Regions from separate parts of the Homo sapiens genome. Here all the other regions are linked to region 1. The links are contacts of gene promoters, found by promoter capture Hi-C in blood cells and fetal thymus (Javierre and others, 2016). All regions are on one chromosome and are shown on one strand. The core of a region is centred on a gene start or on the middle of the fragment in contact, and the rest is flanking DNA. Distances in the headings are between cores, read along the strand shown. Region 1 holds the start of BAIAP2L1 (BAR/IMD domain containing adaptor protein 2 like 1). Region 2 has its middle 130 kb from the start of TMEM130. Region 3 has its middle 66 kb from the start of TMEM130. Region 4 has its middle 96 kb from the start of NPTX2. Region 5 overlaps TMEM130 (transmembrane protein 130). Region 6 has its middle 5.9 kb from the start of LMTK2.

Region 1 (3,483 bases), core at 643-3,142:
AGGCAACACACGAATAGAAGAGTTTTTGGTCACAGTGACTGAGCATCAAAAACGCTGTGTCAACTGTGTCTACTCTCCCTACCTGTAAGGCATAATTTATATGTGACAGTATACACTTTGTGTGTTAAGATAAACGGAACGGATCTCTTGGATTTCAATACATAACAAAAATGTTCATGTTCTTCTCTTACTTTCATTCAACAAAAGTTAATAGACTCCTCTGATTTTAGGAATTCAGACCTTGAAAACCCAGAAACTAAAATTTTAGGTTTAAAAAAGTCTATCAAAATGACTAAACTTCCTGATTCAAGCACCAGGGACAGAAAAAAGATAAAACACACCAACCAACCAACCGACCAACCATTTATTTATAACCTTAAACATGCCTATACATGAACTTAGAGAACGTTAAAGTTTCAAGGGTTCGAAGCGCCTAGGCTGAATTAAAACAAAAGTTGTTTTGTGTTCTATTAATAGCAGATGATTAACAGATATCTTATTTCACCTGGAATTCATTTGTAAGTATGTAAACTAAACAGGCCACTAATCCTAAGTCTCTGTCTGTGTCTGGAAAAATTCTCTCCTAATACATGCAAGTTAAGAGACCGGCTATCAACGCATTCCTTAAGGTTAGGTCAATTTCATTAAAACCTCGGTTGTTCTTTGACTTCAAGAACCTCACCAAATAACCCATATATAAAAGCCAAGTTCAACTGAAAGGTGGGAGAGGAAGGGTCTAAGGAGGAGGGCGTTTCCCGGGAGAACGCCCAGAGCTCGGCTCACCTGGCGATCCTAATTACAGGGGAGTTTCACCCCCACATTCTTGGGCGCTTTCTTTTCTTAGAGGAAACTCGAGCTTGTGTCTTTGGTCCCGGAGGGCTTAAGCCCGGCAGCCAGGACAGCACGGGTCACTGATTCCAAGAAGTTGGGAGGAGGACGTGGGCCCCACCGACGCACAACAGACCCCTCCCCAACTTAAGTGCACTAGTTGTAAAATGTGTAGCTGGTCAGGGGATGGGGGGTGGTCTCCAGAGCTCTGAGGGTCAGGGAAGAGGAGAAGGGACGGGGAGGAGAAGGGACAGGGGAGGCGGAGAAGGGCCAGGAGAGGAGGGGGAGACACACGGGGAAGGAGGAAGAACCAAGAGGAGGGGGAGGGGGAGGGGGAGGGAGGGGGATAGACTGGGGAGAAGAAGGGACAGGGGAGGAGGGGGAGACACACGGGGGAGAAGGAAGAACCAGGAGGAGGGGAGGGACAGTGTCGAGGGGCAGGGGAGGAGGGAGAGTGAACGGGGAGCGGAGGGGCAGAGGGAGAGGTACAGCGGGGCGGGAAAGAGAGACAGGGAAGAAGCACAGGGAGGAGGGGAGGGAAGGAGGAGGAAAAGTAGGGGGGAGGGGATGGGGAGGGACTGGGAGGAAGGAGAGGGCCAGGGGAGGAAGAAGAGGGGCTGTGGAGGGCCAGGGGAGGAGTGGGAGAGACCGGGAGAGGTGGAAGGACGCGGGGGAGGGGAGCTGGAGGGAGGGAAAGTACCTTCCCGCGTAAAGTCCCCTTCTGAACCCCGAGGTGGAAAGCCCTGACCTCCCTGAGCCCCGGGCCCTGGGCTTACCCGGTAGGTGCTCTCCGTGAGCCGGTTCACCTCCTCGGGCCCCCGGGACATGGCTGCGGCCGCCGGGCGAGCAAGCGCGGGAGGACGCGGCTGGGCCTCGTGGCCGCCGGACTCCGGGCAGCGGGAGGGCCGGGGCGCGACTAAGGGGCTCTGGAGGGTCGGCCGCCGCCGCAGCCGTCGGCCCGAGAGTGCCCGCGCGCGTCTCCGCTGCGAAAATGTCAAAACTTGCGGCAGCGCCGCCCTGGCCTTCTTCGAGGAGCAGAGGAGAAGCGGCCGGACGCCGCCAGAGGAAGCTGGGCGGGCCGGGCGGCCCCACCTGAGGCGGGCGGGGCAGACGGGGGCGGGGCCGCAGGGCCGGAGGGGCGTGGCGTACCCACCTGAGGCGGCCTGGTGAGCGGGGCCCGGCCGGGGTGGGCGGGGAGGAGGCGGGGCCAGGCAGCTGGAATGGGCGTGGCCAGAGGGAAGCGGGCCCCCCGAGTGGGCGGGGTCACCCCACCTGTGGCGGACAGGGCAGCGAGGCCACGGTGCGCCCCCTCGCGGCTCTCCCAGAGCTCCGGCGACGTAGGGCCCGAGACCCTGGAGTGGGGACCGGTGTGGAGTGGGCTGCTCGCTTTGCTGTTTTGCTAGGGCAAGGGCAGCCTGGGGGTGTTTAGACTGTGGTCCTGGAGCCCTTGTTTGCCTCGCGTGGTGCTGGCCCCGGGGACCCCGAGGCCCACTTCCTCCATGAGGGCTTCCTTCAAGCCCTGCGTTTTGGGGACCAAGGGAAGGGGCCACATTCCCCAGTTGTATTGATTTCCCTGATTGATCTCTTCTTGCCCCGCCGCTCACTGACCCCAAAAGTTAGAGGGACCCGTGGGGGCATCGGCCCTCCTAGGTGGAGAAAACGGGCTGCCACTTGCAGTTTTGAAAGCTCCTGATATATCAAAAAATTAATAAATGCCAGGGTCTAGTTACCGAAATGTTAGTACTTTTTTTTTTTTGAGATGGAGTCTCACTCTGTCGCCTAGGCTGGAGTGCAGTGGTGCGATCTCAGCTTGCTGCAACCTCCGCTTCCCAGGTTCAAGCGATTCTCCTGCCTGGCATGAGCCATCCTGCCTGGCCCCCAGATAGAAGCTTTTTGTTTGTTTTTGAGACAGAGTTTCACTCTTGTCCCCTCAGGCTGGAGTGCAGTGGTGCTCTCTCAGCTTGCTGCAATCTCTGCCCCCCAGGTTTAAGCAATTCTCCTGCCTCAGCCTCTCGAGTAGCTGAGATTACAGGTGCACGTGCCACCAAGCCAGGCTAATTTTTTTGTATTTTTAGTAGAGACGGGGTTTCACCATGTTGGCCAGGTTGGTCCCGAGCTCCTAACCTCAGGTGATCCGCCCTGCTCAGCCTCCCAAAGTGCTGGGATTACAGGCTTGAACCACCGCGCCCGGCCCAGTAGTACATTTTTAAACTTTACATTAACAACGACCTTTAACTCAATGCAGTGTAACCATGCTACTCACGAGATTGTTGTAGGGTTTAGAAAACCACCTGAGCTGAAGTGTTAGGGAAGCCTCTCTTCTTGTCATCACTCAAACTCTGTGGAGGTGTGTGGCTCCTGGGCTCCCTATTTTGTCTCCATCCCGGCCTCAGCCCTGCCCAAGGGTGAGGCAGCTGCCTTCTTTGGGCCTCTCTTCCAGGATTATGTACCTTGGGCTGGGTGACAGCCTTCTCCCCAGTAAGAACCACCATTTAGCTACCTGAGACCCGCACCCAACAAGGGCAGAGGTCTTATTCTGATTTTTTAAAACCTCTGGGCTTGGTGGCTCATGCCTGTAATCCTAGCACTTTGGGAGGCCAAGGCAGGCGGATCACTTGAGGTCAGGAGTTCGAGACCAGCCTAGCCAACATGGTG
Region 2 (3,179 bases), core at 192-2,691, 340 kb after region 1:
TGCTACCACTGGGCAGTGGCTAAAGTGCAGTTTCTCAGATCCAAAGGTCAGGCTCAGATTCTGCTTTGGCAGCTCCCTGGAGGTGCACCTTGAACAAGTTCCTTCCTTCCTCCAATTCCCTAAAATGCAGATGAGTATGCCTCCTGCCACGTGTAGTGGGGTGAGCATTAAGCCTGATAATGCGTGAAATATTGTGGCACCGTGCCTACCACGTGATGAACTCCCAATAACTCCCCCTTCAGCTCCTGGTACAGTCCCTAACATACCCTGATGCTTAGAATATATGAATGAACGAATGAATGAATGAAGTTCTAGGTATATTTTATAAACATAGGACCTAGGAAGGTCAGGTCAAAACTATGGCCCAGGTGCCAAGAGACAAAGACACAGTGGCATATTAGTGTACATTAACCATTAATGACCAAAATAATGACCCCAAGCCCTCCAAGAGACTGTCTTGGCTTCATTAAAGCTCTCTCATCAGAGACACAATAAATTGATGGCCCAAGCTGATGTTCTTTTTGGGTTTTACCATATTTTATCATATTTCAATTATTTTTTTTAGACAAGGTCTCACTCTGTTAGTGCCGTGACATGCTCACAGATCACTGTGGCCTCAACCTCCTGGTCTCAAGCGATCCTCTCACCTCATCCTCCAGAGTAGCTGGGACTACAGGTGTGTACCACCACACCTGGCTAATTTTCTTTTTTTACTTTTTGTAGAGACGGGATCTCACTATGTTGCCCAGGCTAGTTTTGAACTCCTGGGCTCAAGCAATCCTCCCACCTCAGCTTCCCAAAGTGCTGAGATTACAAGCATGAGCCTATCGTGCCCAGCCTCAATGATTTTTTAATTCTTATATTAGTCATTAAGAGAAGCTTTGTGCATTAACAAATAACTCCAACATCTCAGTGACTTAATACAACAATGATTTCTTTCTCGCTCATCGTGTATATCCAGCATGTGCAGACAGGGCCAGGAGGAAAGGCTGGATATGCTTTCCTCCACACAGTCACTCAGGGATCCAGGCTTATGGAAGCCTTCTCAATCATCAAGACAAGGGAAGAAGAGAGACTGGAGAATTGAGACATCTGTTCAGTGCCTTGGCACAAAAGGGACATATGCCACTTCTTTTGTCTGTTTTTTGCTGTTTTTAATGACACTTCTTATACTATATATCATTGGCCAGATCTAGTTGCACAGACTGGCCTACTGTCAAGGATGTGGCATCCTTGTGCTAGGAAGGAGAGGAGAATGGGATACTGGTGAACACTAGTGATGTCCACTCCAGTTCTTAATCACCATTTTGGTTTATTTTTCCAGCTAGAACAACAACAACAAAAAAAAAAAGCTAGAATTTTTTTTTTTCTTGAGATAGTCTTGTTCTGTCGCCCAGGATGGACTGCAGCAGCGTGATCTCGGCTCACCGCAAGCTCCACCTCCCAGGTTCACACCATTCTCCTGCCTCAGCCTCCCAAGTAGCTGGGACTACAGGCGCCCACCACCATGCCTGGCTAATTTTTTGTATTTTTAGTAGAGACGGGGTTTCACCGTATTAGCCAGGATGGTCTTCATCTCCTGACCTCGTGATCCACCTGCCTTGGCCTCCCAGCGTGTTGGGATTACAGGCGTGAGCCACCGCGCCCTGCCCAAAAGCTAGAATATTTAATCTGCACTTCATTCAAAATATCTGCTGCAGCTATGGGTCAAAGTTGTGGTGATCAAGCCTGAACCTTTCTGCTTCCTCCTGTTCAGCAGGAGAGTGAGTTTTGCCTGAATGACCACCCTATTTCTGTAGCTTACAGCCGTGCAGGCAGAGAGCATTACAGATCTCTTGTGGACTTTGCTCTACGCTTCATGCTTGGATTTTATGTCCACATTCATATTGATGATAAAGTTGTTATTTCTTTATTTAACCAATTCTATGTCTATGCATACATGTTTGAATAGGGATTGGGAGGCTAAGTTCATCTGACAACAGCATCTTTGCTTGATATTACAGTGAAGCTTATAACATCAGTTGTGCTGATTTAACAAAATGTATAATGTATTCAGCAGTTGATGACTTCAGCCTAATTGAACACAAATTTATTATGCTATCCAGGGTTGTAATTAAAACACGGTAAAATTAGCCCATCAAATACCGTATACACATGCTCTCTCGCAAAGCCATCAATGGCCTTTGTTTCGCCTATGGTCAATTACATTTTCAAAGTGGAATCCTCCCAAGAATTAGGCAGATGAATCAGGATGAAAGGAAACCCAACCGAGGGTTTAAGGCTGCTCTGCCCTGACAAGGAAACACTCTGAAGATTGTCTTCAAACAATGAGAAAGCTAATTTTCCTACGTGGTGATTTTGGGGTATCATTAGTCTTCTATATCACTTATTTTTTTTCTCTTGGGAAGGAGTCTTGCTCTGTTGCCCAGGCTGGAGTGCAGTGGCCCAATCTTGGCTCACTGCAACCGCTGCCTCCCGGGTTCAAGTGATTGTCCTACCTCAGCCTCCTGAGTAGCTGGGAATACAGGTGCCCGCCACCGCGCCCAACTAATTTTTGTATTTTTAGTAGAGACGGGGTTTCACCATGTTGGCCAGGATGGTCTTGAACTCCTGATCTCGTGATCTGCCTGCCTCAGCCTCCCAAGGTACTGGGATGACAGGTGTGAGCCACCATGCCCTGCCTAATTTTGTATTTTTAGTGGAAGCAGGGTTTTGCCATGTTGGCCAGGCTGGTCTCGAACTCCTGATGTCAGGTGATCCGCCATCCTCGGCCTCCCAAAGTGCCGGGATGACAGGTGTGAGCCACCACGCCTGGCCTTCCATGTTATTTTAATGATCGCAGAACTGTGGAAAACTGGAGGTGGCTCAGATGTAATAAAAGGGAATTGTCCGTGTGTCCTTGTCAGGAGTCCAAGCCATGCAGGAAAGAGAAACAGGACCTCCCTCCCTCCCCGAAACCAGTTCCTTAATAATGACCCTGAAAAGGCGGATCAGCTGCAGGGAGAGTCATCCTGTGGGCTTCATGAATTCTAATCGCTGTTGGCGATACAGTGACACATTCTACCATTTAGACCATTCAGGTCTAAAACTACATTTTGGGTCTAGAAACACTCCTTTCATAAATATTTTAAAACGAAGAATTAAAGAAGTTCAGGAGAACAATGGCGGAGGTGGAGAAG
Region 3 (3,444 bases), core at 248-2,747, 400 kb after region 1:
CTGTTGTTGCGAGTGCTATTACCATGGAAACCCTGAGTCAGGGCCGCGCTTAGCAGAGCCAAGCATGCCAGGGGCTCTCGGGGCCTCTCTTCTGCCAACGGGGAAGGTGATGTAAGGCAGGCAGCATCTCCCTGGGACTCATTAAGAGAGGGGAGTGTGTGGGTGGCAGGGAGGGAGTAGAATGGGGGTGGGGTGGGAGGAAAGGGGAGGAGGAAGTGAGAGTAATGACATGGCTCGGGGAACAGCTTAGGGCTGCCAAGCCCAGACCACAAGAGCCAAGGGATCTCCCCTGCTAAGCAGCCAAATTTGAGCCAAACCAAGTTTGGTCTTTGGAGTCAGTTCCTGAACCCAAAAGACCAAACTTCCCAGGAGACCAGAGCCCCAAGCTGGGCCCCACAGATGTTACCTTTTGGTGATAGTGGGAGATCATGGAGCCTCTGGATCTGGGCTGCAGCCTGGGAGGCCACCCAGCACAGCTTTATTCATCCCAGCACTCAAGGGAGATTTGGGGACTTGGTCAGGGTCACACAGTGGGTCCATATGGAGGCCAGGAAGGCAAGAGGTGGAGACCCTTTCCTAGTCAATGAGCTTCCTCCCAGCTCACTGTCATCCATTGGCTGGGCAGGCAAGGTTGGATAAGAGCCCCTGATGTGGCCTGAGCCCAGCAGAGAACAATCCCACCCCCAGGTCTTCTTGCAGATTGAGTGAGTTGCTGGTTTCACAGCATGTGGACAGTCAGGTTCCCAGGCTAGCTCATGCAAACAGTCAGGTTCCCAGGCTAGCCCATGCAAACTTCGTTACCACATCCTGTGGGGTTCCCTTCTGCACAGAGTCTGACTTTCCTTGAAAATTGAGAGGCTCAGCCAGGTGCAGTGGTTCATGCCTGTAATTCCAGCACTTTGGGAGGCCGAGGCGGGCGGATCACTTGAGGTCAGGAGTTCGAGACCAGCCTGGCCAAAATGGTGAAAACTGTCTCAAAAAAAAAAATACAAAAAATTTGGTTGGGTATGGTGGTGCATGCCTGTAATCCCAGCTACTTGGGAGGGTGAGACATGAGAATCGCTTGAACCCGGGAGGTGGAGGTTGCAGTGAGCTGAGATCATGCCACTGCACTCCAGCCTGGGCAACAAAGTGAGACTCCATCTCAAAAAAAAGAAAAACGAAAAAAAGAGTAAGAAAAGAGAAGGAAGGAAAGAAAGAAAGAAAGAAAGAAAGAAAGAAAGAAAGAAAGAAAGAAAGAAAGAAAGAAAGAAAGAAAAGAAAGAAAGGAAGGAAGGAAGGAAGGAAGGAAGAAAGAAAATAAATTGAGAGGCTATACCCCAGGGAGACCCATCCTTCTTGCCTACATTGCCAAACTGTAGCTGCTGTCTGCAGACATGCAAGCCAGGAACCAGAGATGAGGGACTGTCAGTGCATGTCACCCTGACGTCTTCACTGATCACACTCAAGCTGGGCCATATTCTGGGCTCCGGTCTCCATTACCTGCTGCACATACCTCATTCAGCCCTCAAACAGTCCTCGGAGGCAGATATCATGTCCTAAGCGGTCCCATTTTGTACAATAGAAAACAGCCTTTGGGAGACAAGGTGCCTTGCAAAGGCCACACAGAAGGGAAAACTGGGCTCTGAACTGAGGATATTTTGAGATTGCCGAACAGCCTCATTGGCCACTCTTCCACTGAGCACAGGACAGGTGGTGGAGTCATCTTGGGGAAGCCCTGATGCCTGCCCTCACAGATCCGGCATGGGGGCAGCTGCTGGAGACGATGCTGCCTCAGTGATCCCAGGCCAACCCCTTCTCTCCGCCACGCAATTCCTGAGGTCTGGAGTTGGGGAAGGAGCGAGGGCCATGAAAACTGGGGACAGGGGCAGCTGTGTCCTCACTTTAAGATAGAGCCATGCAGCTGGTCCTTCATGCTGGCTTGCTAGCAAGCAACAAAAAGTTGGATGAAACATTCATATTGCCGAGATATGACAATGTCTCTGAACATGACATGCTGCTCCCCTGGTAGCATAGTTAACACTGGTCTTCCAACATCCCAAGCAAGAAGAACAAAGCGCCACTCACTGGGAGATGGTTGGAAGGAGAGTGGATTCTAACCTGCTCACCCTCGTGGCTGGGGGTTGTGGTCTTTGATGGAGGAATTAATAAACCCAGAGCCACATCTGTCAAGAACTCAGTGGCTTCAGTAGCTCTTCCCTGGAGCTGTGGAGGCCACCCCTGGGCCTGGGGGACCCATTCATTCCAATGCTGGGGTCCTGGAATCAGAATCTTCTTGGGAGGCGCAAGCCCCCCTCCTCCCCTCTGCCACAGACCCATCCCACAGGTCTGGGCCCCAGCACCAGCTGGTCTTCAAAGTCACATGAGTCTGAGCCACATGGAATTACAAATGAGCTAAAAAGATGAGCTGATTTCGGCCGGGCACGGTGGCTCACGCCTGTAATCCCAGCACTTTGGGAGGCTGAGGCGGGCGGATCACGAGGTCAGGAGATTGAGACCATGCTGGCTAACACGGTGAAACCCCGTCTCTACTAAAAATACAAAAAATTAGCTGGGCATGGTGGCGGGCGCCTGTAGTCCCAGCTAGTCAGGAGGCTGAGGCAGGAGAATTGCTTGAACCTGAGAGGCAGAGCTTGCAGTGAGCCTAGATAGCGCCACTGCACTCCAGCCTGGGCGACAGAACAAGACTCCACCTCAAAAAAAAAACAAAAAAGATGAGCTGATTTCATTAATGCCGTCTTCCATTTCGTCCAGTATTTCTGTGAATTTGTGGACATTTTTAAACTAATCTCTCCACTGCTCATGAAATTAAATACTAAGGAATAAGACTGAGTTCGATAGTGTTAAACTTTGCATGACCACAAATCATTGTAATAGCTAAGACTTTGTTGGTGGTGGTGGTGGTTTGTGTTTTTTATTTGTTTTTATTTTTTGTTTTGTTTTGTTTTTGAAACAGTCTTATTCTGTCGCCCAGGCTGGAGTGCAGTGGCGCAATCTTGGCTCACTGCAACCTCTGCCTCTCAGGTTCAAGCAATTTTCCTGCCTTAGCCTCCCAAGTAGCTGGGATCACAGATGTGTACTACCACACCCAGCTAATTTTTGTATTTTTAGTACAGATGGGGTTTCACCATGTTGACCAGGCTGGTCTCCAACTCCTGGCCTCATGTCATCTGCCCTCCTCGGCCTTCCAAAGTGCTGGGATTACAGGCATGAGCCATCACACCTGGCCATAATAGCTAAGACTTTTTCAGCACCTCCTCCAAGAACCAATTTTGGCCCCTTGGGGTAATGTCACCTCCATTGAGAATATGTGGTCTAGTCAATGCATGGGGTTGCATCTTGGGGGGAGGCCACCAGCCATTGCTCATTTGATGCTCCATGATGGGCCCCTGGGCTGAGCACTGAAACCAGAACCTTCTTTTTCATTCATTTTTTCTCACCCTG
Region 4 (3,090 bases), core at 505-3,004, 310 kb after region 1:
AGTGCAGGGCCTTCTGTGGATGTTTGCAAAGTGCAGCCCTACAGGTGACACCTGTTAGGCCAACAGGTGCCCCGGGGCCGCCAATGTACAGCTGGCAGAGACGGAGTCCATCGCAATGCTGGAGTCCTAGGATCTCAATTCCTGCGGGTGTTTGGCTTCTTCTGTCTTTCCTGTTATCAGTTACACGATTAGAGGAAAATTAATCCGTGGATCTTGTTCAAGTTGCACGCCTGGAAGAAGCTACGCCTGATGGGTAAAAACAAAAAGACACAAAAAAGGTGCTGTTGTGTTAGTCAGCACTGGATCCCACCAGCAGAACCACTTGGGGCTATATATACAACATGAGGTTGACCATCGGTGATGTGGGCTGAATTCTGTTCCCCTAAAATTCATATGTTGAAGTCGTAACCCTCAGCACTCTTAGAAAGTGCCCGTATTTGAATACAGGGTTTTAAAGAGGTGATTAAGTTTGAAAGAATTCATTAACTGGGGTCCTTATAAGAAGAAAAGTTGGGCGAGGTGCGGTGGCTCACGCCTGTAATCCCAGCGCTTTGGGAGGCTGAGGCAGGCAGATAACGAGGTCAGGAGTTCCAGACCAGCCCGGCCAATATGGTGAAACCCCGTCTCCACTAAAAATATAAAAATTAGTTGGGCTTGGTGGCACACACTTGTATTCCCAGCTACTCGGGAGGCTGAGAGCAGAAGAATCACTTGAACCTGGGAGGCGGAGGTTGCAGTGAGCCGAGATCATGCCACTGCACTCCAGCCTGGGCGACAGAGCGAGACTCCATCTCAAAAAAAAAAAAAAAAAAAAAAGAAGAAGAAGAAGAAGAAAAGTTGACTGTGTTTCAAAATAAAAAGTATATATGCAATTTGCCGCTTACCACGTTTGAGAATTCAACACAATACAGGAAGTTTTAGAAATATACTGCCATTAGAGCATCACACCTTTTCTGGAACAAGCTTAGCACAGAGAACATCAACCAGACAATCTTACATCAACTGTAACCAAGTAGGAATTTTGCATCTAGCTGAAATGTCATAACAGTTACAAAAAAGAATCACAAGCCTTAGTCGATTTGAGCTTCTTTTTCAAACGTCTTAAAAAAGTCAAACCAAACAATATTTTAAGCAGGAAAAGACTAATTTTCACAGAGTTGAGTGATCATCCGTCTTAGTGGCTCAGAGCACCCATTAGCCATCCCATAATAAACTGGAGTAGAAGTTTATTGCTTACATTAAGCATTGCAAATTAAAGGAAAGGGATAATTTCCTTTTAGCAAAATACTCTAGATACCACATCAAAATTACAGAAATAATTGTGTCAGAAATACAGTTTAATAGCAAATGGTGTTCTGCTGTGAAACGAAATGCTTTTTAGTAGGTTATATCTTGTAGAATCCACCTGACCCTTGGACATCAAAAGGAAGAATTTCCCATAAGAAAAGCTTTAGGGCAATTTCACTTAGTGGCTAGAGATTTATTTTCCATGTCACCAGATTATTAATAGCTGGGATTTCTGTTTCAAATCAAGGCAGGAAATTAGTCATATCATGTACAAAGAAAGATTTCATGCGGTCCCACCTATTTCAAAAAGGAAAATGTGGTTAAGTACTGTATTTAAATTAAATGATCAGTGTTATAGCAATTACTGAGGCACGATTTTGTCAGATGGCAAAGAGAATGCATTAAAGATATGAACAGCTGTTTCTCAGTTTAAATTTATAGTATTTCAAAATTCAGGAAATGACTTTTGTGTTCTACTTAGAATCGAATTACAAAAATAACAGAACCAGCCCATAATACAGCATTTCGAATTACAGAGACGTTTGGACCCTTTCACCAAAGTATACCGTTTTGGCAAAATGATCCAGTTCTAATAAAATCAGAACTGTAACGCAATAAAATCAGGTTTCATGTTAGAGTTACATATTACGTTAGTGATCATTTTCACTACAAAGATATCATTTGAATACCAAATCCAAGCACAGTTTTGTGTGGCAGTTTAAGGAAGAACCAGTCAACTGGCTTTTAAACTAGAGCATCACGGCTTTTCTGGAACAAGCTTAGCATACATAGAATATACACCATTCAAGCTTAGCGTGTAATAAACTAACATGGCTTTTAAAATCATACAATCCCCACTCCTTTTTCTTGTTAGAAAGTTATTCATGCAAATTACTGAATTTCACACAGCAGGGTAATTATAGTATAAAAAGTGAGTTGCTTTACTCTGAGGCTGATTCAAAACTAGGATCAACCATTCGAGGTATAACAGCCTTTCCGAATTCTCCCTTGAGGGTGTTTAACACATTAATAATTAGTTAGGTCAGGCTGACGTTTCAAGTATTACATCTGGCCGGGTGTGGTGGCTCATGCCTGTAATCCCAGTGATTTGGGAGGCTGAGGTGGGAGGATCGTTTCAGCCCAGGAGTTCAAGACCAGCCTGGGCAACATAGCAAGACCCCATCTCCATAAAAAAATTAAAAAATTAGCTGGGCATGGTGGTGTGTGCCCGTGATCCCAGCTACCCTGGAGGCTGGGGTGGGAGGATTGATTGAACCTCGGTTTTCGAGGCTGCAGTGAGCTATGATCACCTGGGTGATCCAGCCTGGGTGACAGAGCAAGACCCTGTCTCAAAAAAAAAAAAAAGTGAATACTTCTTGTGAAGAATGGAAACCCAGTATCAAGGGGTTTTTCCACTAAATGCATCCTGGCCAGTGCCTTTGGTTGGTGCCTTTTTCAAGATCCTCATGAAAAACCTGCCTTCTTTTTTTTTTCTTTTGAGATGAAATCTCACTCTGTCACCCAGGCTGGAGTGCTGTGGCACGATCTTGGCTCACTGCAAACTCTACCTCCCGGGTTCAAGCAATTCTCCTGCCTCAGCCTCTAGAGTAGGTGGGACTACAGGTGTTCGCCACCACACTCGTCTAATTTTGTATTTTTAGTAGAGATGGGGTTTCACCATATTGGCCAGGCTGTTCTCGAACTCCTGACCTCTAGTGATCACCTGCCTCAGCCTCCCAAACTGCTGGGATCACAGGTGTAAGCCACCATGCCTGGCCAAAAGCCTGCCTTGTTTTAGAGAGG
Region 5 (3,242 bases), core at 102-2,601, 450 kb after region 1:
AGTCACAGCACCCGGCCTCAGAAAAGGCTTTTGAAGGCAGGCATTCCAAGGGGCTTAGAAGAATAAGAAACATCTGGACATGTGAAGGGAGAGAAGAGAACCCTGAAAGAACCACATGGGCAAAGATCTGGGGGCTGGAAAATAGGCCACGTCATACACAGAGGGCTTCTCAACAGGAGGGATCCCTCCCAACCTTTGTCTCCATGCCCATGGTGAATACAGCCCCAAAAGGCAGGTCCTCCCTCCCTGGGACCTCAAGAATTGAGCTGAGGGCTAGGTGTGGTGGCTCATGCCTGTAATCCCAGCACTTGGGGAGGCCAAGCTGGGAGGATCACTTGAGCTCAGGAGACTGAGACTAGCTTGAGCAACATAGTGAGAACCCATCTCTACAAAAATTAAAAATTGGCCAGGCATGGTGGTGCCCACCTGTAGTTCCAGCCACCCAGGAGGCTGAGGCAGGAGAATCATTTAAGCCCAGGAGGTCAAGGCTACATTGAGCTGTGATGGTGCCACTGCACTCCAACCTGGGTGACAGGGTGAAACTCTGTCTCTAAAAAATGCAAATAAAGGCCAGACGCAGTGGCTCACACCTGTAATCTCAGCACTTTAGGAGGCCAAGGCGGATGGATCACTTGAGGTCAGGAGTTGGAGACCAGCCTGGGCAACATGGTGAAACCCCATCTCTACTAAAAATACAAAAATTAGCCGGGCATCGTGGAGTGCACCTGTAATCCCAGCTAGTCGGGAGGCTGAGTCAGGATAATCGCTTGAACCAGGGAGGCAGAGGTCGCAGTGAGCCAAGATTGCGCCACTGCACTCCAGCCTGGGCGAAAGAGCGAGACTCCGTCTCAAATAAATAAATAAATAATAAAATAAAATACTGGAGCTGAGCCCATGCTCTCCCCATGGCCCAGCCTCAAGACAAAGTGGCACTGCCCTTCCATGAGGTCCCAGACCTGAGGCCTGTCACAGAGCAGAACAGACTTGGGGTCATCGTGAAGGGGGATGTGCAGAGCCCACGGGGCACCCCCAGTGCGCTCTGGAGCTCACTTACCTCCCCAGGAAGTTCAAGGTCACGGTCATCTTTTGGAAGGTCTGAATTAGGGTGGGCCCCAACACTTGGATGCCTCGAAGGGTTTCTGTAAGGCAGAGAGAACCCCGTTAGACCTGGTGGCTAAGGATTGCTGTCGAGGCTCCCAGGGCACAGGGTGGTGCGACTGCCACCCTGTCCTCCCCTCCGTCCCTCTCCTAAGAGCAGGCCACAGGTCTGTGCGGGGTTCCTCTGGGTCCTGCCCTCCCCTGTCAGTGGCAGGTGCTGAAGCCTGCTCAGAGGGAGGAAAGTAGGAAAGGCAGGCAAACACACAATTGTCCTGCCCATTGCCAAGTCATCGTCTGTGTCACACAGGAGAGCACCATCCCGTCAGCAAGAACCAAGACATCTTCTGCAGCTGCCCAAGGGCTCCCTCTCACCAAAGCCAGGGAGAGATAGAGACCCTCCCACCCCAGGGTGAGCCTCGGTGGGAGGCCGATGGGGCCGGGGAACAGGGAATGGCATGGACTGGCCAATTCACAGCAGACACCTGGTCACCGGCTCAGGCTCTGGGAGCAGGCAGCCCGGGGCACAAGGGCCGCTCAGCCACTGCACAGCCACATGATCCCATCCGTGGCCTGCAGCGCTCTGTCTGAAGCAGGGTTAATGATAGACGCTCCTCAGAGGTCTGTGGGGCTCCAGAAGACAGGGCGTGAGTCCAGCCCAGAGCCACTGTGATCTGTGCGTACGGTGACCCCACTCTGGAACGCCCAGACTGCATCAGCCTGCCTGGACACCCACCCTGCAGCTTCAGCGAGGCGGAGAAGTCCCCGGTCTTCTGCTTCACAGCCCTCGTGGCATCCGGCTCCACCTCTTCCCACTCCGCCACCACTTTGAGCTTCACGGTGAAGGTCCCGATGATGGAATAGTTATAATAGACCACGGAGTCTTCAGTCACCATCTGGGTCCTGTTAGGAGACAGGGAGGAGAGAGGAGGAAGACAGCAGACGGTTGCTTCCCCTTCCTGTAACTCAGAAGTGATTCATGGGACTTGCCAGAGTCAGGGGAGGCTGTACAGTGATACTCCCAGCTACCAGTGAGCACACCTGTCATCACAGCCTAGAGCCAGCCAGGGCTCCAGGTCAGCTGGCCCATTTTCCAGATGAGCAAACCGAGGCCAGAGAAGGCCTAAAATTCAGGAAAATTACAAATTTCTCACATTAGCCAAAGTTCAAGGGCTCAACAGCCCCACGTGGTGAAGACAGAAGAATTTTTTGTCAAAAATTTTTTGTTTTTGTTGTTTTTGTTTTTTGAGACAGGGTCTCACTCTGTCACCCAGTGGCACAATCATGGCTCACTGCAGCCTTGAATTCCTGGGCTTGAGCAGTCCACCTGTGTCAGCCTCCCAAGTAGCAGGGATCACAGGCGTGTACCACTGTGCCAGGCTAATACATGATTTTTTGTAGAGACAAGGTCTTACTATGTTGCCCAGGCTGGTCTTGAACTCCTGCGCTCAAGTGATCCTCTGACCTCAGCCTCCTAAAGTGCTGGGATTATAGGCATGAGCCACTGTGCCAGCCAAGCCGAGGGTTCTGTTGGACAAAGCTGCCATCCAGATTTTTCAAGTAAATGGTCTTTCCTGCAAATTGTCTGCTTTCCAATATTTATACTGTACTTTTTATCTCTCTCTCCCTTTTTTTTTTATTTTTTATTTTCCTTTTTAGAGATAAGGTTCTGCTCTGTTGCCCTGGCTGGAGTGCTGTGGTGCAATCATAGCTCACTGCAGTCTCTGAACTCTTAGGCTCAAGCAGTCCTCCCACCTCAGCCTCCCGAGTAGCTGGGACTACAGGCACGTGCCACCATCCCTGGCTAATTTTTGTATTCTTTGTAGAGACGAGGTATCACTATGTTACCCACCCTAGTCTCGAATTCCTGGGCTCAAGCTTTCCCCACCCTCTTGGCCTCTCAAAGCACTGGAATGACAGGTGTGAGCCACCATAGGCCCGCACTTATTTTCTTGACTTTCCTAAGTAAGTTAGAACTTTCAGGATAATATCGATGGACCCTGATAAGGAGCACCCTTGTCTTATTCCTGCATCTAGAGCCAGGTTCCCCCAACATCTCAATGCAACGACTCCCCAGAGGTATTTGACCACAGGTCACTTTTGTCACCAAGAGTTAGAGAATCCACATTCCACGTTTTGCCAGGCAC
Region 6 (3,471 bases), core at 784-3,283, 300 kb before region 1:
CAGGTGCTGTGGTTCATGTCTGTAATCCTGACACTTTGGGAGGCCGAGGGGGGGTGGATCATTTGAGGTCAGGGGTTCAAGACCAGCCTGGCCAACATGGCAAAACCCTGTCTCTACCAAAAATACAAAAATTAGCTGAGCGTTGTGGCACATGCCTGTAGTCTCAGCTACTCGGGAGGCTAAGGCAGGAGAATCACTTGAACCCAGAAGGCAGAGGTTGCAGTGAGCCAAGATTGCACCACTGCACTCCAGCCTGGATGACAAAGTGAGACTCTGTCTCAAAAAAAAAAAAAAAAATTAATTGGGCTATTTGTCTTCTTGTCATTGAGTTGTTAAGACTTCTTTTTGTAATTTTTTTTTTTTTAAATTTTTGGTGTTTGGTTTGGGAGGTATTTTGTTGTTTTCTTATTTTTTATTTATTTTATTTTTTGAGATGGGGTTTCTCTATTTGCCCAGGCTGGTCTTGAACTCTCAGGCTCAAGCAATCCTCCTGCCTCAGCCTCCCAAGTAGCTGGAATTACAGGCATGTGCTACTGTGCCCAACTTGTAAGAGTTCTTTTTGTATTCTAGATGCAAGTAACTTATCATATATATGGATTTCACATATTTTCTTTCATTTTGTGGGTTATCTTTTTACTTTCTTGGTTGTGCTTTTTGAATCACAAAAGTTTTAAATTTTGAAGCCAAATTTATCTATTTTTTCTTTGTTTGCTTGTGCTTATAGTATCCTATCTCTGAAACAAACCTAATCCAAAGTAATAAGGATCTATGCCTACATTTTCTTGTAAGATTTTCATAGTTTTAGCTTTTGCATTAGGTTCTTGATCTATTTTTAGTTAATTTTTGTACATGACATTAGGTAGGGGCCGATCATCATCATTCTTTAGCATGTGGATATCCACTGTCTCACAGCATTTGTTAAGAAACTATTCTTTTCCATTGAATTGTCCTATACCCTGGTTGAAAATCAATTGACTGTCAATCTTAAGATTTATTTGTAGACCCCTAATTATATTGTTTGATGTATAATGTCAGTGCCACACTGTTTTGATTACTATAGTTTTGGAATATATTTTGAAGTCAGAAAATGTGAATCTTCCAACTTTGTCTCCTGAACCCTGCCCAAGATTGTTTTGACTATTCTGGGGCCCTTAAATTTCCATATGAATCTTAGGATCAGCTTCTCAATTTCTGAAAAGAATCCAGAGGGAATGGATGGGAATCACATTAGATCTATAGATCAATTTGGAGAGTATTGCCTTAACAATATTGTCTTTTGATCCAGGAACATGGGATGTCTTTCCATTTATTGAGGTCTTCTTTATTGTTTTTCAATCAACCGTTAATTCTTTAGACATATTTATAATAATTATTATTATTTAATTGTAATAATTATAATTTAAAGTCTTTGTCTATTAAGTCCAACTTCTCAGCATCTGATATGGCTTGGCTCTGTGTCCCCACTCAAATCTCATCTTGAATTGTACTTCCCATGCATTGTGGGAGGGACCTGGTGGGGGATAATTGAATCATGGGGGTGGTTTCCCCCATACTGTTCTTGTGGTAGTGAATAAGTCTCACAAGATCTGATGGTTTTATCAGGGGGTTCCACTTTTGTGTCTTCCTCATTCCCTCTTTGCCTGCCGCCATCCATGTAAGACAGCACTTGCTCCTCCTTGCCTTCTGCCATGATTGTGAGACTTCCCCAGCCATGTGGAACTGTAAGTCCAATTAAATATCTTTTTTTTTTTTTTTTTTTGAGACAGATTCTTGCTCTGTCTCCCAGGCTGGAGTGCAGTGGTGCCACCTTGGCTCACTGCAAGCTCTGCCTGCCGGGTTCACACCATTCTCTCACCTCAGCCTCCCAAGTAGCTGGGACTACAGGCGCCTGCCACCATGCCCGGCTAATTTTGTTTTTGTATTTTTAGTAGAGACGGGGTTTCACTGTGTTAGCCAGGATAGTCTCCTTGATCTCCTGACCTCGTGATCCGCCTGCCTCGGCCTCCCAAAGGCCTGGGGTTACAGGCATGACCGCTCCACCCGGCCATTAAATCTCTTTCTTTTGTAAATTGCCCAGTCTTGGTGAGTATGTCTTTATGAGCAGCATGAAAATGGACTAATACAGAATCCTCAGGGAAAGTTTTTGTTGTCTAATTTTTCATCCTGTGTATGAAGCATATTTTCTTGTTTCTTTTTCTGTCTTGTAACAATTTTTCGAAAACTGGACATTTAAAATTGCATAATGTGGAAACTCTGGAATAGGTTTTCCCTGATATTCCCCTTCCACAGGGTTTGCATTGTTGGTGCTGTTTGTTATTGCTGTTGCTGCCATCATTCATTTTTAAAGGGCCTTTCCTGGTCTAATTCTGTATTTTGAAAAATTTGTGAATGGCCACCAAAGTCTCTGTTTAGTTAGCTTAGTGGTCAGCTAATGACTACAGAGATATCCTTAAATTCTTTTTTTTTTTTTTTTTTTTTTTTTTTGATATAGAGTTTTGCTCTTGTCATCCAGGCTGGAGTGCAGTGGTGTGATCTCGGCTCACTGCCACCTCTGCCTCCTGGGTCCAAGTGATTCTCCTGCCTCAGCCTCCCGAGTAGCTGGGATTACAGGCGCGTGCCACCATGCCCAGCTAATTTTTGTATTTTTAGTAGAGACAGGGTTTCACTATATTGGCCAGGCTGGTCTCAAACTCCTGACCTCAGGCGATCTGCCCAACTTGGCCTACCAAAGTGCTGGGATTACAGGCGTGTGCCACTGTGCCTGGCCTCCTTAAATTATTTGAGCCAATATGTCTCCCTGGTTTTGCTAAGAGTCTCTGTATGTGTGTTGGAGCATGCATCTGATGCTCTGGCAGTTTAAAATTCTGCCCCAGTCCTTACTGTGCTTGCACAGCCTCATGATCAACTAGGAATGAGAAACGAGGGCCTTCTCATGTATTTCCTAGCCATGTTCATAGCCTTGTACATGCACATGGCTTTCTAGATTTCCAATAATATGGTGGATCTTTTCAAAGCTCCCAATGACATATTATTCCCTAGATTTTTCTTTTAAGTTTCTCATCAGCCAACTGGTATCACTGGCTCAGGCAATTGCAATGTTAAACAGTTGTCACTGATTATTTTCAACAAACAGGATAGGACTATTTTCACTGAGGCATTTCTGAGTCATATCAAATGAAGAAAAGCCCTGAAAATAGTGCCTTTCTAAGGAGCTGCCAGACAGGTCAGATAGTCACAGTTCTTTGGGGATACAGGTTTTGGGGGAGCTCCAAACCTATTCTGCCCCCTCTGGTAGCTGCTAGCCTGCTTATTTCCACAGTTCCCATGGTGGTGAAGTTGCTGGTTTTCAAGGCTATCACAGAGGTGGGGAGAGAAGAATGGAAATAGGGCAAGTAAAAATTTCATGAAGCTCATTATTCTTATGAGATTTGGCCATTTTCCTTTTCTTTATTTTAAGAGACAGGGTTTCAC

Evidence for each region. Contacts are between HindIII fragments. The CHiCAGO score rates a contact against its expected background, and 5 or more counts as called.
Region 2: a contact is called between a fragment that was not itself captured here and the fragment with the promoter of BAIAP2L1 in region 1, in 4 of 17 cell types (M1 macrophages, M2 macrophages, M0 macrophages and 1 more). The highest score is 9.1, in M1 macrophages.
Region 3: a fragment that was not itself captured here is called in contact with the fragment with the promoter of BAIAP2L1 in region 1 in 4 of 17 cell types (M1 macrophages, M0 macrophages, naive B cells and 1 more); the score reaches 6.8 in M1 macrophages.
Region 4: a fragment that was not itself captured here is called in contact with the fragment with the promoter of BAIAP2L1 in region 1 in 1 of 17 cell types (M2 macrophages); the score reaches 5.0 in M2 macrophages.
Region 5: a contact is called between a fragment that was not itself captured here and the fragment with the promoter of BAIAP2L1 in region 1, in 2 of 17 cell types (M1 macrophages and M0 macrophages). The highest score is 5.7, in M1 macrophages.
Region 6: a contact is called between a fragment that was not itself captured here and the fragment with the promoter of BAIAP2L1 in region 1, in 1 of 17 cell types (non-activated CD4 T cells). The highest score is 5.3, in non-activated CD4 T cells.

Annotation. Positions count from the first base shown.
Region 1 is chr7:98,399,198-98,402,680 of GRCh38, forward strand. BAIAP2L1 (BAR/IMD domain containing adaptor protein 2 like 1) reads right to left here and starts at 1,893. Exons shown (of 14, transcript NM_018842.5): 1 at 1,605-1,893. The coding sequence starts at 1,655. RefSeq lists a silencer at 1,567-2,226. The HindIII fragment of the contact is 3,647 bases long and covers 1-2,715 here.
Region 2 is chr7:98,742,503-98,745,681 of GRCh38, forward strand. No RefSeq gene overlaps it. Among named protein-coding and RNA genes, the nearest start is that of TMEM130, 130 kb to the right of the region's middle. The HindIII fragment of the contact is 1,129 bases long and covers 878-2,006 here.
Region 3 is chr7:98,802,200-98,805,643 of GRCh38, forward strand. No RefSeq gene overlaps it. Among named protein-coding and RNA genes, the nearest start is that of TMEM130, 66 kb to the right of the region's middle. RefSeq lists a silencer at 827-876. The HindIII fragment of the contact is 5,045 bases long and covers 1-3,444 here.
Region 4 is chr7:98,712,096-98,715,185 of GRCh38, forward strand. No RefSeq gene overlaps it. Among named protein-coding and RNA genes, the nearest start is that of NPTX2, 96 kb to the left of the region's middle. The HindIII fragment of the contact is 617 bases long and covers 1,447-2,063 here.
Region 5 is chr7:98,854,186-98,857,427 of GRCh38, forward strand. TMEM130 (transmembrane protein 130) reads right to left here. Exons shown (of 8, transcript NM_152913.3): 4 at 1,832-1,998; 5 at 1,055-1,139. Among named protein-coding and RNA genes, the nearest start is that of TMEM130, 14 kb to the right of the region's middle. The HindIII fragment of the contact is 3,239 bases long and covers 1-2,971 here.
Region 6 is chr7:98,099,255-98,102,725 of GRCh38, forward strand. No RefSeq gene overlaps it. Among named protein-coding and RNA genes, the nearest start is that of LMTK2, 5.9 kb to the right of the region's middle. The HindIII fragment of the contact is 7,442 bases long and covers 1-3,471 here.